3 separate regions of the Homo sapiens genome follow, and regions 2 and 3 are each linked to region 1. The links are contacts of gene promoters, found by promoter capture Hi-C in blood cells and fetal thymus (Javierre and others, 2016). All regions are on one chromosome and are shown on one strand. Each heading gives the region's core, a stretch centred on a gene start or on the middle of the fragment in contact. The rest is flanking DNA. Distances are from core to core; before and after follow the strand shown.

Evidence for each region. The method cuts DNA at HindIII sites, captures the fragments that hold promoters and counts their contacts. A CHiCAGO score of 5 or more calls a contact.
Region 2: a fragment that was not itself captured here is called in contact with the fragment with the promoter of E2F3 in region 1 in 2 of 17 cell types (fetal thymus and endothelial precursors); the score reaches 8.1 in fetal thymus.
Region 3: a contact is called between the fragment with the promoter of ATXN1 here and the fragment with the promoter of E2F3 in region 1, in 8 of 17 cell types (naive CD8 T cells, total B cells, total CD4 T cells and 5 more). The highest score is 13.3, in naive CD8 T cells.

The regions. Positions count from the first base shown.
Region 1 is chr6:20,400,052-20,403,361 of GRCh38, reverse strand. E2F3 (E2F transcription factor 3) reads right to left here and starts at 1,483. Exons shown (of 7, transcript NM_001949.5): 1 at 737-1,483. The coding sequence starts at 1,129. It overlaps LOC124901482, which reads left to right and starts at 590. Exons shown (of 3, transcript XM_047419652.1): 1 at 590-937; 2 at 982-1,093; 3 at 1,200-2,621. The coding sequence starts at 590. The coding sequence ends at 1,807. RefSeq lists silencers at 1-148, 349-818, 1,669-1,908 and an enhancer at 1,046-1,570. The HindIII fragment of the contact is 2,252 bases long and covers 414-2,665 here.
Region 2 is chr6:24,202,687-24,205,996 of GRCh38, reverse strand. It overlaps DCDC2 (doublecortin domain containing 2), which reads left to right. Exons shown (of 10, transcript NM_016356.5): 8 at 895-995. Among named protein-coding and RNA genes, the nearest start is that of NRSN1, 78 kb to the right of the region's middle. The HindIII fragment of the contact is 3,786 bases long and covers 1-3,310 here.
Region 3 is chr6:16,759,400-16,762,709 of GRCh38, reverse strand. It overlaps ATXN1 (ataxin 1), which reads left to right and starts at 1,250. Exons shown (of 8, transcript NM_001128164.2): 1 at 1,250-1,412. It overlaps ATXN1-AS1 (ATXN1 antisense RNA 1), which reads right to left and starts at 1,572. Exons shown (of 3, transcript NR_136240.1): 1 at 1,544-1,572; 2 at 431-591; 3 at 1-358. RefSeq lists an enhancer at 1-796 and silencers at 797-1,116, 934-1,149, 1,157-1,316, 1,793-1,922, 1,993-2,472 and 1 more. The HindIII fragment of the contact is 4,299 bases long and covers 1-3,310 here.

The DNA of each region.
Region 1 (3,310 bases), core at 234-2,733:
CTGGGCGCTTGGGCCACGCGGGCGCCGCCGCTGCCACTGCCAGGATGCGCCCAGGCCAGAGCGCCAGCCCGCGAGCCCCTCACCCCAGACAGCCCACGCCCCAGTCCGCACCCGGCTTCCAGCCCCACCTCCCCCACGCCCGACTCCCCTCCACCTCCCCCAGCCCCTTTGTTGCCGGGAGTTACAGATCCTAAAATGTGTCAAGCGCAGCCCCGCCGATCCCCTGCGCTCCGAGCACGCCGCAGGGACCCCCGGCCGCCAACGAGCCTCCAAGGCCGACTGGGGGCTAGCACCCCAACAGTCCCCCGGTTTCAACCCCTCAGAGCCCCCCACACCCCAGTTCACTACTCCCTCCCCCACCCCCTTCTCCATCCGGGGCGTGACCCCTTCCTACGCCCGAGAAAGAGGAAGCTTCGAGTTGGAGGGGAAGGGAGAGTGGGGGTAGGGAAAAGTGCAGGAAAAGAAGGGGGGGCCGCGAAAAGTTTTGGAGTGTTTGATGTGGTTCGCGCCAAGGCAATCCCCGCCGCCCCGCGCGCCTGGCCGAGCCCCCCGACCCTCCTGGCGCCGGGAAGAGCACTCAGGTCTAACAATGAACCCTCGTTGGAGGGGCAGCCCCCGAGGCCCACGATGCTCGGCCCAGTGCTCTCCCCGAGCGGCCCGCAGCGCGCCCACGACCCCGCGCGGTGCGAGCCCACCTCCCGCCGGGGCTGGGGACGGTGGGGAGGGAGGGTATTACCGGAGGGCCGCCGCCGCCGCCGCTGCCGCCGCGTCCCAGCGCTGGTGGCTGCTGCAGCAGCCCGGCTCTGCTGGAGGGTCCGTGCGGCGTGGTGTAGAGGAGGCTGCCGGCGGTCTGCTCCGCGCCGGGGGCACTGGGGAGGAGGGGGCCGGCGGCTACGGCGCCGCTTTGGAGGGAGGAGGAACAGGAGGTGGTGGAAGTGTTCGTGGTGAGGATCTGGATGTACGCGCCCGGGGCGGCGGCAGCGGCGGCGGCGGCGGCGAAGCCGGGGCTGGCTAGCAGTGCCCTTTTGTCCATGGAGGCTGCAGCGGCGGCGGCGACGACAGCCGCCCCCTCCCCACCCCCGGCGGTCACCAGGTACTGCTCCAGAGCGGGCTGGATTCCCTTTCTCATCTCTCGCTCCTGCTCTTTTTAGTGTTATGGTATATTAATGTATTGTTTTCAATTTCTTTATTATTTGCAGTCGGAGTTTCCAAGTCTCTCCTCCTTCTCTCCTCCCCGCCCGGCGCTTCCGAGCCCCCTCTCTCTCTTTTCTTTTTATTTTTCCGCACCGCACAGGCCCCGGGGGCCAAAAATAATCGGGGCTCTGGAGAGAGGAGGGTCCCGGCCGCACGGATATCGGGCCCCAAGCGGGGATGGAGGCGTCGGGGGCGGCCGATGCAACGGATTGCGAGGCGGCGGCGGCAGCCCGGGTGCTGCGGCCGGCAGCTGAAAAATGGCTCCAGGAAGCTGCTGCTGACAATGAATGAAGGGATACGGTTTACGCGCCAAGGTCCTCCCGCGAAACTCGGATTTCCCGCCGGCTTTTCAAACCATATTTGCATATCCCCGCCCCTCAACCCGCCGAGGACCGTTCCCACAGCCCATTGGGCCGCTACCTCCTTACTTCAGTCCCAATCATGGAGCAGGGCCGCGACTTGCTGGTTTCCATTGGCTGCCGTGCATCATGGTTACCGGGGCGACAGGGACCCTATTTGCATAGGCCTCCTTGATTGGCTGGCAGAAGAGCAGTTTTTAGGGGGTGGGGCAAAGAATTTCCTTCTCTCCCACGGAAGACCACGCCTGGCCTAGGCTCCGCCCCTGTCCCCGCCCGCCCGCCGGGCCGGCGCTACTGACCTGGGCAGGGACTCCGCGCCCCGCAGACTCAGTGTAGATCTAGTCTAGAGCCCAAGTTTCGCTTTTGGAAATTGTCAAGGTGACTAAGGGAACACTCTTTCCTTTGACCAGTCAGTGCAATAAACGAACAGCGCAGGAGATTTTTCCAGATACGTGCCAAAGGCAAGTTGGACCATGCGGACGATGTCTGGCAGGTGCAAAAGGAGCCCTTTAAATCGTGGGCTTCTCCCTTCCTGAAATCCAACCAATGACGCGGCGAGAGCTGATCCCGAGGCCGGGGCTGATAGACAGAAGCATGTGGGCAGACAGAATCGTGGGGGCAGAAGGTTCAGCAGACGCGATTGCGGGCACCAGTTAACATTCCAGATCATTCCCGGTACCTTCATTATTAGCCTGGATAGGGGTAAAGTACAAATTAACTCTTTTGTCTTACAACGGATATTGGTTTGAATCCAGCAGACATTCCCTCTGGCCCAGAAACACCCAGGGCAGTTAATCAGGGCTAACCTAGAACTGATCTACGGGTTTCTAATCCGCCAAGCAGTAATCCGAAAAAGTACACGCTTCCCACGATGACGTCGTGCCCCCAACGAACGCAGGCACGCCCAGGCATCAGCACTTTATATCTTCAGTTTTGTAGGAAGTTCTCTGACTGGAAGCAAACACAACGACTCAAACCTATCCCAAAGTATTTTTAAAATAGTGTCTTTTTTTAAAAAGTAAACTAGAAATTGTCATCAGAAAAATATAAAATGATGTGTCAAACTGACTCCTGAATTTGTTCAAGTATTCATGGGTCTTAAAATTAAAGCTTGCTCCTGAGATTGAGCAGGAAAAGAGACCCCTGCAGGAATGTGGGGGAAGTTATGTATGTAGAGACTAGATCATAATTTATAGTTACGTGCAAAACAGCTGCAGAATTGGTGCTCATAGGTGATGAGGATTGCAACACCTTGAGCCCTTTCACAAGATTTTTATTACTATTATTAATTTCCCAAAACTCTTACTCAGAGTGCTATGAAACACCTGACAAGATGTGTCAGATCAGGCTAGGACTCCTTAATATTTTAGCCTTGTTACCTTTTCTGAAACAGATGAGTTAAAAGTTCCATTAAACCTTGCACCAGGCTCAGGAATATTTTAGTCTTGCATTCAGGCTAGTTGAGGATCCATAGCCCTAAACATTTGTCGACACTGGTAGAGGTGACACTATCTTTATTTTTTGAGACAGAGTCTTGCTGTTGTTGCCCAGGCTGGAGTGCCATGGCACGATCTCAGCTCACTGCAACCTCTGCCTCCTGGGTTCAAGCAATTCTTCTGCCTCAGCTTCCTGAGTAGCTGGGACTACAGGTACGTGCCACCACGCCCAGCTAATTTTTGTATTTTTAGTAGAGACAGGGTTTCATCATGTTGGCCAGGCTGGTCTTGAACTCCTGACCCTAGGAGATCCGCCTCCCT
Region 2 (3,310 bases), core at 583-3,082, 3.8 Mb before region 1:
GGGGTAATCAAATATTGTAATAGATTACCAGAGAAGGAGGTAAAATCGCCATCCCTGGAGAGCCTTAAAAATTGGACAGAGAAAACATCTGTGAGAATGGCCAAAGCACTAAACCTGTCTTGAGGCAAGTAGATGGACAGAATGACAAATGGTTCTGCAATTCTTTGATTACTTGGCCTGAAGAAGAGAAGGCTGAGGGGAGACATTAAAACTACTTCAAATATGAAAAACAGCTATTATTGCTTTCCAGAGGAAAGCAAGTTGAAGGAGCTTAACCTAAAGTCAGAGATTGAGTTTACATTTGATAGTTAAGGATTTAAAGTCATAGGTTGTGAAAATCTTGTGGAGATCTGCAGAATAAATGATACTGATTTTTTGGTGAGATATGGAAAGTCAACTCTATGATTTGGCTGCAGTAAAAACATTTTTTATAATACTCTGAATAGAGAGAATTATTCCAATACGTTATATTGAATGCATAGCATTCTCTTGGGAAAGGTAAATTTCTAAAAGTAGTATTTTAAAGCAGCAAGCATTTTCACTGTTTTGTGAATAGGAGGGGAGAACTGGGATGATACTTGTGAATTTCTTCTCATCTCAATGCCTGTACAAAGGGCTATGTTAGTAAATCAGTAGCCAAAGGGTGAACAGGAGCTTCGACAGAACTTTACCCTGCTGGGTCAGCCTTGTTTTGACCACTGAATGTTTTCTCAATGAAAATGTGGAACAACTGGGGGTGGTGTGGTGGTCGGAGGAGGGGGTGCACAAAAATACTATCAACTAAAAAGGGAATCCAAATGTCTATTAAAAATAAGCATTTGATTGTAATTCCAGCATTCAGCCACACGATGTCACAATTGGATTTTGATTTTCACTGTGTGTTTGTCTCAATAGATGAAGGCATTTTCAAAGCTGGAGCAGAGAGGTCTGAAACACGGGGGGCAGCAGAAGTCCAAGAAGATGAAGATACTCAGGTTGAGGTTCCAGTCGATCAGGTAATCTCCATGCCTTAAAAAATATGTGTAAGACAATTATAGTGTTTTTTTTCCAAGTTTTGTGTTATCTCCTACAAATTGTTCCTATACCTGTATGAATTAAACCCTCTAAGGTACTATGTGGCTGATCAACCTTAAAAACATAACAAAACACCATTCTTTCTCCTAGTATTCCTGTGAAGAATAGCCATTTAGACCAAGTCTTTTTAAATAACAGCAAATGGTATTTCCTTAATAAAGAGCATTGAAGAGCAAGATGGGATGGGATTAGGTATGAGATAAAGTGATAAAGTTTGATATAAAAAAGAGTATTGGTTTGGGATTTTCATCTGGAATAAAAGTACTTACCCACTTAGAAAAGCATTTTTAAAAAATTATACTTTAAGTTCTGGCATACATGTGCAGAACGTGCAGGTTTGTTACAGAGGTGCCATGGTGGTTTGCTGCACTCATCAACCCATCATTTACATTAGGCATTTCTCCTAATGCTGTCCCTCCCCTAGCTCCCCAAACCCTGACAGGCCCCAGTGTATGATGTTCACCTCTCTGTGTCCATGTGTTTTCATTGTTCAGCTCCCACTTATGAGTGAGAATGTGTAGTGTTTGGTTTTCTGTTCCTGTGTTAGTTTGCTGAGAATGATGGTTTCCAGCTTCATTCATGTCCCTGCAAAAGACACGAACACATCCTTTTTTATGGCTGCATAGTATTCCGTGGTGTATATGTTCCATATTTTCTTTATCCAGTCTATCATTGATGGGCATTTGGGTTGGTTCCAAGTCTTTGCTATTGTGAATAGCGCTGCAGTACACATAAGTGTGCATGTGTCTTTATAGTAGATTGGTTTACTATCCTTCAGGTATATACCCAGTAATGAGATTGCTGGGTCAAAGGGTATTTCTGGCTCTAGATCCTTGAGGTATCGCCACATTGTCTTCCACAATGTTGAACTAATTTACACTCCCACCAACAGTGTAAAAGTGTTGCTATTTCTCCACATCCTCTCCAGCATCTGTTGCCTCCTGACTTATTAATGATTGCCATTCTAAGTGGCATGAGATGGTATCGCATTGTAGTTTTGATTTACATTTTTCTAATGACCAGTGATGATGAGCGTTTTTTCTTATGTTTGTTGGCTGCATAAGTGTCTTCTTTTGAGAAGTGTCTGCTCATATCCTTTGCCCACTTTTTGATGGGTTTGTTTGTTTTTTTTCTTGTAAATTTTTTTAAGTTCCTTGTAGATTCTGAATATTAGCCCTGTCAGATGAATAGATTGCAAAAATCTTCTCCCATTCTGTAGGTTGCCTGTTCACTCTGATGATAGTTTCTTTTGCTGTGCAGAAGCTCTTCAGTTTAATTAGATCCCATTTGTCAATTTCGGCTTTTGTTGCCATTGCTTTTGGTGTTTTATTCATATGAAGTCTTTTCCCATGCCTATGTCCTGAATGGTATTGCCTAGGTTTTCTTCTAGGGTTTTTATGGTTTTAGGTCTTACATTTAAGTCTTTAATCCATCTTAAGTTAATTTTTCTATAAGATGTAAGAAAGGGGTCCAGTTCCAGTTTTCTGCATGTGGCTAGCCAGTTTTCCCAACGCCATTTATTACATAGGGAATCCTTTCCCCATTGCTTGTTTTTGTCAGGTTTGTCAAAGATCAGATGGTTGTAGATGTGCGATGTTATTTCTGAGAACTCTGTGCTGCTCAGTTGGTCTATATATCTGTTTTGGTACCAGCATCATGCTGTTTTGGTTACTGTAGCCTTGTAGTATAGTTTGAAGTCAGGTAGCATGATGCCTCCAGCTTTGTTCCTTTTGCTTAGAATTGTCTTGGCTATATGGGCTCTTTTTTGGTCCCATATGAACTTTAAAGTAGTTTTTTCCAATTTTGTGAAGAAAGTCAATGGTAGCTTGATGGGGATAGCATTGAATCTATACCTTACTTTGGGCAGTATGGCCATTTTCACAATATCAATTCTTCCTATCCACAAGAATGGAATGTTTTTCCATTTGTTTGTGTCCTCTCTTATTTGCTTGGGCAGTGGTTTGTCCTTCCCCTTGAAGAGGGCCTTCACATCTCTTGTAAGTTGTATTCCTAGGTATTTTATTCTCTTTGTAGCAATTGTGAATGGGAGTTCACTCATGATTTGGCTCTCTGTTTGTCTATTACTGGTGTATAGGAATGCTTGTGATTTTTGCACACTGATTTTGTATCCTGAGACTTTGCTGAAGTTACTTATCAGCTTAAGGAGATTTTGGGCTGAGATCTTGGAGTTTTCTAGATATACAATCATGTCATCCACAAAGACAGACAATTTGAC
Region 3 (3,310 bases), core at 1-2,500, 3.6 Mb after region 1:
CCGCACTGAGCGCCCTTAGTCTGGAGGCGCCTCCTAGTCCTCCAGGTGCCACACCTGTTGGCAAGGTGCACCCATCCGAAGAAGATTCCTTCGCGTGGAGGTCACACCTGGCGGCGAGACAGGCGGAGGGGCGGGGTGGTGGGAGTCGGAGACCGCACTGAAACCCTGAGTCCAGATTTAAGTTCCTCGTCGATTCTCGAGAACTGCCATTTGATGCTCCGGTTGCTTTCTCTGTCTCCTACACTGGTTACCTCATTTCCGATTAAATTAATGATCCGAAATTAGCTGCGAGAGGAGTGCGCGGGTCTCCTTTCCAGGCTAGAGCGGAGTAGTTCCATATCAAAGCCGATTTCCGGACCTGCGTGCGAAGAGAGAAAGAGGGCAGGGTCGGGCGGTCGCCAGCGTTCGCCGGCAGGAAAGGTGAGGGTACCTGTGCAGTCGGGGGACCCCTTGAAACTTTCCGGAGTTGCACGCAGAGGCAATCCCCGCGGCCCCCAGGCCTGGGTTCCGGAACGCCGAAGCGACGCCGGTTTGTGGCTTAACGTGCAGCTGATGATCAGAGTGAGCCCTCTCAGATGCTGCTCCGAGCGCCTGGGACCAAGGACACGTCGGGATTAGAATGGGCCGACCTCCCCTCCCCGCTGGGGTGTTGCATCGGCTCCCAGCTGAAGCCTGACAGCCCTTGGGGGAGTCCCCCAGGTTGCCTGAGTAGCGCCCCGTTGTCGTTCAGTCCCCTCCAACTAGGTGCAGGGACCCAGGGAGGCGCGCGAGGACCGACCCGTCACCGCTCAAATTACCTCATCGCCCAGCTCCCCGCCCCCTTCCCAAACCTGGAAGGAACCTTGCCCTCCGGTCCGCGTCTCCCCTCCCCCGCACCCCATCCCGAGCCACTCTTTGGGAAAGGTGCCCGCCTCCCCGGGCGGCGCGCAGCGAAGGGTTAAGGGCGCGGGCCGGCCGCCGCGCGGTGCGCTCGCCGTGCTCTGTGCGGCTCGCCGGGCCGCCCGCCAGAGGGTGCCCCCCACCCCCATGAAGTCGGATCCTTGAGCTGCGGCGGCGGCAGCCAACTGCTCCATATTTGGCTTCTATTACACATTTACATACTGGAGCGAGCGAGCGAGCGAGCGCGAGAGAGCGCGAGGGAGGGAGGGAGGGCGGGCGGGCGGAGGGAGGAGGGAGGGGAGGGGAGCGGGAGGAGGGGGAGGAGGAGGAGGAGGAGGAGGAGGAGAGAGCAGAGTATACCGCAGACATCATTTCTACTACAGTGGCGGAGCCGTACAGGACCTGTTTCACTGCAGGGGGATCCAAAACAAGCCCCGTGGAGCAGCAGCCAGAGCAACAGCAGCCGCAAGACATTGTTTCTCTCCCTCTGCCCCCCCTTCCCCACGCAACCCCAGATCCATTTACACTTTACAGTAAGTGACTATTTTTTTTTCCTCCTCCGATTCTTTCCCCCCTCCCCCATTCCCTTCTCCCCTTATTTAGATTAAAATCCCTCCTCCCCCGATCTCCCGAGAGGGGCAAAAGCAACAACCAGCAAACAAACCCAAAACCCCAATCGGCTGCACGGAAAACAGCTGGAAGAGGAGCGAAGGAAATCGACGCGTCGTGTTCTGTGTGTGTGCGTGTGTGTGTGTGTGTGTGTGTATGTGTGTACATACAACCGTCCCCGGCTCCAGGCTCCCGGGCCGACACCCCCACTCTGGGCGCAGGGGCGGCCGGCGGGGGGGCTGTCAGGGGCTGGGTGGGCGCCCGCCGGGCTAGGGGGCGCGCCCGGGCGGGGGGCGCGGGCGGGGAGAGCGGCGGCGGCGCCCCGCTCCCCCGGCTGCTGGTCCGGTCGCAAGTGCGGAGAGCCATGTCCTCCTCCCTCCGGGTGGCGCAGGGGGGAGGCGGCGGCTGGGGTTGGGGGGTGGTCCCTTTCCCGGCCGCCCTCTTCCCATTCCTCCTCCCCGGAGAGGGCGGTGAGAGAGAGGGGGTCTCACGGAGGGCTGGACTTCTCCGCGGGTGGTCGCCCGGCCTCGGCGCCCTGGGGCGGGGGTCTCCCCTCGGAGGGCCGGCCTCGCCGGGTGTGCGGCTGCGGGCGGGGAAGGGACTGCTCCTGCAGCCGGGACGGGACTTTGCGCGCGGCCGGGTGCCGGGCGGGGGGCGCAGAGGGGTGGCCTCGGGGACCGCGCGGGGGTAGCGGGTGTGCGGGTGCCTGGAGCGCGGCTGGAGTGGCGGTGACGGCCCTGGCCGCCGCCGCCACCGCCGCCCTGTTGGTGCGGCCGCTTCCTGATCATGTGCAGCGGCAGCCGCCGCCCGGAGCCGGGAGCCCGCGAGCGCCCCAGTCCGGGCCGGCGCCCCCGCCAGCACCCGCGGCAGGAGACGAGGAGCCGCGGCAGGCGCTGCCCTGAGCCGGGAGTGAACGGCTGCGCGGCTGCTGGGAGGGTGAATGAAGCCAGGAGGAGGGGAAGGAGGAGGAGGCGGCGGCCGCCGCGGAGGAGGCGCTGCGGGGATTGGGATGCGCCCTGGAGCCCCACTGCTCGTTCACTCTGGGCCGGGCCGGAGACTCTGCCACTCCCGGGGGCGCCGCCGCCTCCTCCTACGTGGTTCCAGTGCTGCGCGCAGGCCGGTCCCGCAGGGGGCAGGGAAGGGGGCCGGACGGGCGGAGCGAGAGGTGAGGCGGTGTCGGAGCGCGGCGTGAGTGTGAGTGAGTGTGTGAGTGACTGTGTGTGTGTATTTGTGCGCGCGCGCGCCGGGCGGGGGGCGAGGGCCGTCGCGACGCGGAGGGGGCCCTTCCTTGGCTACTTGGCTGACTCTGCAGCGCCCCGACCCCTCTTCAGCCCCCCGCCTTCAGGCTGCCTTCTTAAACTCCGTGGCTTGTGCTTTCATTTTGTTTCAGACCACGTAGGGGGCTGACTGAAAGGGATGAAACAATTCAGGTTTTCTAGGGAGATTGAGCAAGAACCTTAGTGGGGGTGGAAGTAGGGTGGTGATCGAGACTCTGCCAGAAAACAAAACAAAACAAAAAAAAATCCGTTTCTAAGGACGGCGGGGATTCGGTTCGAGCCCGTGGCTGCTCTGTTTTGTTTTGCTTTCTTGGTATATAATCCTACAGATAAAAGGGTAATATAAATATTTGAGAAGAGGGAAATTGCTGAAGAGTAGTAAGGGCAAAAAAAAAAAAAAAAAAAAAAAAAAAACAGTCGGAAGAAGCTGGTTATATAATGCGCGATGTGGCTAACAAGAAAGGCAAGCTATTTTTATTTTGTTTACCGTATGCTGTGCAGTAGGGACTCCTCCAAACTGGTTCTGTCCCCGAAGAGATTCTTAG